2 separate regions of the Homo sapiens genome follow, and region 1 is linked to region 2. The links are contacts of gene promoters, found by promoter capture Hi-C in human tissues and cell types (Jung and others, 2019). All regions are on one chromosome and are shown on one strand. Each heading gives the region's core, a stretch centred on a gene start or on the middle of the fragment in contact. The rest is flanking DNA. Distances are from core to core; before and after follow the strand shown. Region 1 overlaps ICOSLG (inducible T cell costimulator ligand). Region 2 holds the start of AIRE (autoimmune regulator).

Region 1 (2,874 bases), core at 330-2,829, 57 kb before region 2:
TGCCTGTGAGGTCCCCGGGCCCAGGGCACCTCCCGGGACACCCGAGTGGTGATGCACGACCCTCAGTCCTGGGGCTTAGGACCTCTGGGTGCCCCCGCAGGTCCGTCCTGGAGTCACTTCACAGTCACTGCAAATGGGCACCACAGCCCACTTTCCAACGCCCCAACTTTCCACACCCAAGCAGCTCCTTGTCCCTGCCAATCAATGCCCGGTGATGACAACTGTTCTTTTATAAACACCACACATCTTCTAATGCTTTCATGTTAAAAGCGGGAGTGGATCCCACATTCACCTAAAGGCTCAGGTAGGGACTTTTTTTGCAGAAAACCAATTTCTTGTAACAAGTACTGGAACCTCATTGTAGCCTTGAGTCCTCACTCCTCCTTTTGTTCTAAGTCTGGGTCTGAGAAGTGCAGGCCTCACACAGCTGTCAGTTCCAAGTGACCAGGGCTGTAACAGGTCCTGGCTGACCCTGGGAATGTCAGGGGATTCTGGGAAGTAAGAAGGAGGGGCATTTGCCCATAGCCCCGGGGCAGACAATGTGTCCCGAGGGCCAGGCCAGGCTGTCTACTCCATCTCCCTGGGGCGAGTGCACCTCGGGTCACCTGGCAGCATCCTTTCCAGCCCTTCTGGAGACAGTCAGCAGCTGATTCATTCCGGGAACCAGCATGGCAGGTGCCGGGGCTGGTCAGGGCCCAGGGCTGTACCCCTCAGCACTGGACCACCCCGTCTCCTGCCCCCTTGGGACTGTTGGGCTCCGAGGAGCCTGGCGCTGGGGTCGGAGGTCTTCATCAGGACCCTGGGGACCCTCAGGGTTGAGTGGGGTGGGGCTGCTGAGGGTGGTGGGGGCCGGGGGAGCCACCTCTCACTTTGGGGATCATTGCTGAGGTGAGAAGGGGGACTGTGGCCACCAGGTGATACCCTCTCCATGCACCTAACTGCTGCTCAGGACTCTGGGGACCGTGTTGCCAGGCCTGCGCCTGCTGGACATGGGCGTCTCCAGCCCTGCTGGGCTGTGTCTTTCTCGCTGCAGAGCCAAGAGCCCCGGCAGCCCCTGTAGCCAAACACGGCCCTGGCACAGCCTTTCTTCTGGCAAACTCCACCCGTGCGTCTTCCAAAGGTGGCTCAACTTTTCACCGGAACAGCCGAGGGACATTGTTCCTCCCAGGGAATGTGGCAGAGGACACTGAAGCCCAGTGGGGACTTCCGGGGGCTCCTCGGTGTGGACGGCTAACTACACTTGTGGGCACACACATGAGTGGGTCCTGTGGCTTCCGGGCGGGAGGCAGGTTGGGAGCGTTCAGGGCAGAAGAGCTCCTGTGACCGTGTCCCCTGCAAACAGCCTCGCGTGACCCCAGCAGCACAGAGGCCGTCCTGGAAGAGCGGACGCCCAGTCTTCTTTTTAAACCAAACACCCTTCGGTCTCAGGATCCCGCATCCCACGGGAAGACCCACAGTGGGTCTGGGGTACTGGGAAGAGCCTGGTGCTGAATCCCGCACGCTCCGGGTAGAGACAGCCCATCACCAGTCCCTTCCTGTGGGTGACTGGCAGTGACAGCGGGGAGCCCACTCACTTGGGGACATTTGCCTTTGGTGTGGATGACGCTTTTGAAAGGGCCTCATTCCAGGATCACAGCCAACGCCAGCAGGTTCTCCCTGGGATCCAGCAGTGGTCCTTCTGGGGGCTGCCCCAAGTGCTCCCCTGCAGTCTGGGAGTCCATGCTCAAGCTGCCACCTGGCCTCTCACGGTGGCGTCTCACGGAAGCCCTGTCCACGCTCTGGGCGGTGAGCTCCGGTCAAACGTGGCCTTGGAAGGGAGATGAAGGAGAGAGAGGAACATGAAGCACCCCTTTCCCTTCTGCAGGCAGACGTCGGTTTTCTCAGGACTCAGCTTGGTGGAAACACAGGGTTTAAAGCTTCGGAAACAGCGGCCTGTTCAGGGAACTTCGACTGGCTCCGACGGGAACAGGCCGGCCGTGTTTTTAGCAAGCTGTGTTCCTGCATCATCTGGATGGGCCGACCTGGCCTTGGAAGTGCGTTTCTGCGGTCGGCCATCAGCTCGCCTGGGTCCACAGGTGACACCACAGCATGGTGGCTGCGCACACCCTGAGCCCACTGTCCCCGGGGAACCCCTTCTCCTGGGCGGCAAACAGGGCTCGGAGGGGATCCTGGCCCATGGCGGGGAGCCCGGCTGGCCTGCCTGCGAAGCCCAGCGCCCCTTGCAGCCAGAGGCACCTGCCAGGTGGGTGACCGTGTGTGGACATTTTTCCCAAATTGGACAGGAATCCACATCTATGTTGCTCCTGGAACTGAGGGGCAAACGAGAGCTGCAGGAGTGGCTGCCACAGAGAGAAGCTGGCGGTGCCCGGACCCACTCCGGACACCCCACAGGGGCTGGGCGCCGGTGCCTGGACCCGCCCTGGACACCCCACGGGGGCTGGGCGCCGGTGCCTGGACCCACTCCGGACACCCCATGGGGGCTGGGCGCCGGTGCCTGGACCCGCCCTGGACACCCTGGTCGGGGCTGGGCACTGGGGAGCGCGGGGGTCTAGCACTCGTCTCTCTGCTTCTGTGCATGTTGGGAAAATCCCATCGCAGTGTGACAAAGTGCACACCAGGATGCCATCCCATGCCAAGGGGAGGCTGCAGGAAATGCCATGCGCACCATCGAGGGCTTCGCTGCGTCTCCAGGAACAACAGTTGTTCAAGGCAAGGGACTTTTGCCTTTTGAAAGTTTTTTGAAACTCTGAAAGACAGCTGGCAGCCAAGCCTCCCCTGGGCCCCCCAGAACCTGCTGCTTCCCACGGCAAACTCACCAGTGAGCTCTGTCTCCGGACTCACAGCCCAGGCACCTGGAGGACAAACCAAAATGGT
Region 2 (2,864 bases), core at 310-2,809:
TGCCTGATACTCCACAGCCACCACTGAGATGGACCCCCTCCCCCTCAGCTCCCCATGACGTCCCCAGCACCTGACCCCAGGCTGACCACCTCGGCCACCACCTCTGGCCCCACCTTCCTCCCCAGGTTTGTTCCCAAACACCCCTAGAGTCTTTTCCGGAGCAATCTCAGACGTGCAGAACGCTCAGGGGGACCCTGGGCCTGAAGGCGGTAGGAGAAACCGAGACCGACCCCTGGTCTAGAGGAGAGGTGTCTGCCGCTCTCCATCCTGGACTCTGGCTGCCCAAAAGCAAACGGCACGCCTGCCCACGTGGGAATCTTGGTGGCGTCTCTCACTGCATCAGTTAGCCCCCAGCCCAGTGCTGCCTGGATTCAGGCTTCCTGGTACCTTCGTCCACCCTTCAGCCCTAATCCATGCTGGCCAGGTCATCTCGTTCTCTGGCTCAGTGGGAACACTCGTGCCCAGAGACCTCTCGTGGTTCTCTGCAGCCTGCACACAGGGCCTGCTTCCCTGGCTTGACCGCACAGACAAGGGGACTGTTACCAAGGCCTCCCACTGAGGCCACCCCCCCTCCAGGCCATGCCTGCGGGGCCACCACAGCCTCAGCATCATTGCAGGCCCCAGGCCTCTGCACCTGGTCTTGTTTTACTGGGGGCACTGTCCCCACTCACGTCCACCTGGGACCCTCGGCTCCTGTCCACTGCAGCTCCCCTCCCGGACACCTTCCCAGATGCCCCCGGAAGCTCCTGTCCAGGCCACAGCATCCCTCAGCCTCTGTCACTGGTCCTAGGAAGACCCTTTGGGAGCTCTCACTCAGGGCCACACTCAGGACCCCCGTTGTGGGGCTGGCCGCCTTCCTTCTAAAGCACCTGGAGGAAGGAAGGAGGGGGTCAATGCGAGCCTCAATCCCCAGGCGAGTGTGCCCCTTTTAAAGATGAGGGAACCGAGGCTCAGAGAAGGAAAGGACTTGCCTGGCGTCACACAGCTAGCCTAAGATGGTGAGGTCAGGAGCTCCCTGGCAACACCCAGGCTGCCGTACCGTCTCCTGCATCAGACTGAGCCTCCATCGGGCTCCTCCCACAGCCCCAGGCGGGCCCCTGAGTAGGGGCTCTCAGCTTGTGTGGAGGTCCCCCAGGAACACCACCCCGATCCAGCCTCCATGGAGGCTCTTGCCGGCCACTGGGAGGGGCCGGTGCACCCTGGGCAGCCCCTGCCAGGGCCCTGAGACCCGAGCCTCCCCGCCGAGGGCACCTGTCTCGGCTTTGCCCCATTCGAGCAGGGCCCTCGCCGAGGCAGGACAGGGCCACATTCGGAAGTGAGAGTTCTCTGAGTCCCGCACAGAGCGAGTCTCTGTCCCCAGCCCCCAAGGCAGCTGCCCTGGTGGGTGAGTCAGGCCAGGCCCGGAGACTTCCCGAGAGCGAGGGAGGGACAGCAGCGCCTCCATCACAGGGAAGTGTCCCTGCGGGAGGCCCTGGCCCTGATTGGGCGCCGGGGCGGAGCGGCCTTTGCTCTTTGCGTGGTCGCGGGGGTATAACAGCGGCGCGCGTGGCTCGCAGACCGGGGAGACGGGCGGGCGCACAGCCGGCGCGGAGGCCCCACAGCCCCGCCGGGACCCGAGGCCAAGCGAGGGGCTGCCAGTGTCCCGGGACCCACCGCGTCCGCCCCAGCCCCGGGTCCCCGCGCCCACCCCATGGCGACGGACGCGGCGCTACGCCGGCTTCTGAGGCTGCACCGCACGGAGATCGCGGTGGCCGTGGACAGCGCCTTCCCACTGCTGCACGCGCTGGCTGACCACGACGTGGTCCCCGAGGACAAGTTTCAGGTGGGCTCCCCGCCCGCCCCCCGCTGCCCCCAGGCCCTGTGAGCCAGGGATAGTCCCCGGGGAAGTTCCAGGAGGACCCCGCCCCTCCAGATCCCCAAGCCCCTCCAGCCTTCCCCAACTCCCTCCCCACAAGGAGCCAGGGGCGTCCCTGATGACAAGTTAGAAGTTGGTCCCCTTCCCCCAGCCGTCCCCACACCTCACCCCCAAGCCAAGGGAATGGCCTCCAGGTTCCCCCAGCCCCACCCTCAACACCCCTACACCACCACCTGACTCCACCACAAGCCGAGGAGATGGGCGTGGAGCTGTCCAGGTCGCCAGCGCCTCTGCCTGGGAGCTCCACCCTCTAGTCATGATGGAGATGGGCAGGCCGCAGGGTGTGGGGGACCATGGCAGGGACCCTCATGCCACCCCACTGCAGGAGACGCTTCATCTGAAGGAAAAGGAGGGCTGCCCCCAGGCCTTCCACGCCCTCCTGTCCTGGCTGCTGACCCAGGACTCCACAGCCATCCTGGACTTCTGGAGGGTGCTGTTCAAGGACTACAACCTGGAGCGCTATGGCCGGCTGCAGCCCATCCTGGACAGCTTCCCCAAAGGTGGGTCCTGGTGGACTCAGCCATGCTGGGGGCCTGGGGCAGCTGCTGTCACCTGCTCAGCCCAGCTGGACTGGAACCGGAGTGGTGTTTGAGGAGCCCGTGGGTGATGTTCCAGGACCGTCTTGGATCCTAAGAGGCAAAGGGGCCAGGCCTCACCTGTCTGGCCAAGGTGTCCAGTTCTGGGGCCCACCCTACCCCTGGAGAAAACCCTGAGGTTGGGACCCTGCTCCTGCCCCTGAGCTGCAGATGTGGACCTCAGCCAGCCCCGGAAGGGGAGGAAGCCCCCGGCCGTCCCCAAGGCTTTGGTACCGCCACCCAGACTCCCCACCAAGAGGAAGGCCTCAGAAGAGGCTCGAGCTGCCGCGCCAGCAGCCCTGACTCCAAGGGGCACCGCCAGCCCAGGTACCCTCCCTGCAGGGGAAGCCAGCCAGGGTCTCCAGTCTTCCCGG

Evidence for each region. The method cuts DNA at HindIII sites, captures the fragments that hold promoters and counts their contacts. A contact is called where the count stands out against the background at its distance.
Region 1: a contact is called between a fragment that was not itself captured here and the fragment with the promoter of AIRE in region 2, in 3 of the 25 tissues and cell types used here (bladder, mesendoderm cells and spleen).

Annotation. Positions count from the first base shown.
Region 1 is chr21:44,227,238-44,230,111 of GRCh38, forward strand. It overlaps ICOSLG (inducible T cell costimulator ligand), which reads right to left. Exons shown (of 7, transcript NM_015259.6): 6 at 2,817-2,852; 7 at 1-1,807. The coding sequence ends at 1,797. Among named protein-coding and RNA genes, the nearest start is that of ICOSLG, 12 kb to the right of the region's middle. The HindIII fragment of the contact is 5,677 bases long and covers 1-2,874 here.
Region 2 is chr21:44,284,317-44,287,180 of GRCh38, forward strand. It overlaps AIRE (autoimmune regulator), which reads left to right and starts at 1,560. Exons shown (of 14, transcript NM_000383.4): 1 at 1,560-1,822; 2 at 2,241-2,415; 3 at 2,662-2,817. The coding sequence starts at 1,691. RefSeq lists enhancers at 1-437, 438-1,039. The HindIII fragment of the contact is 44,459 bases long and covers 1-2,864 here.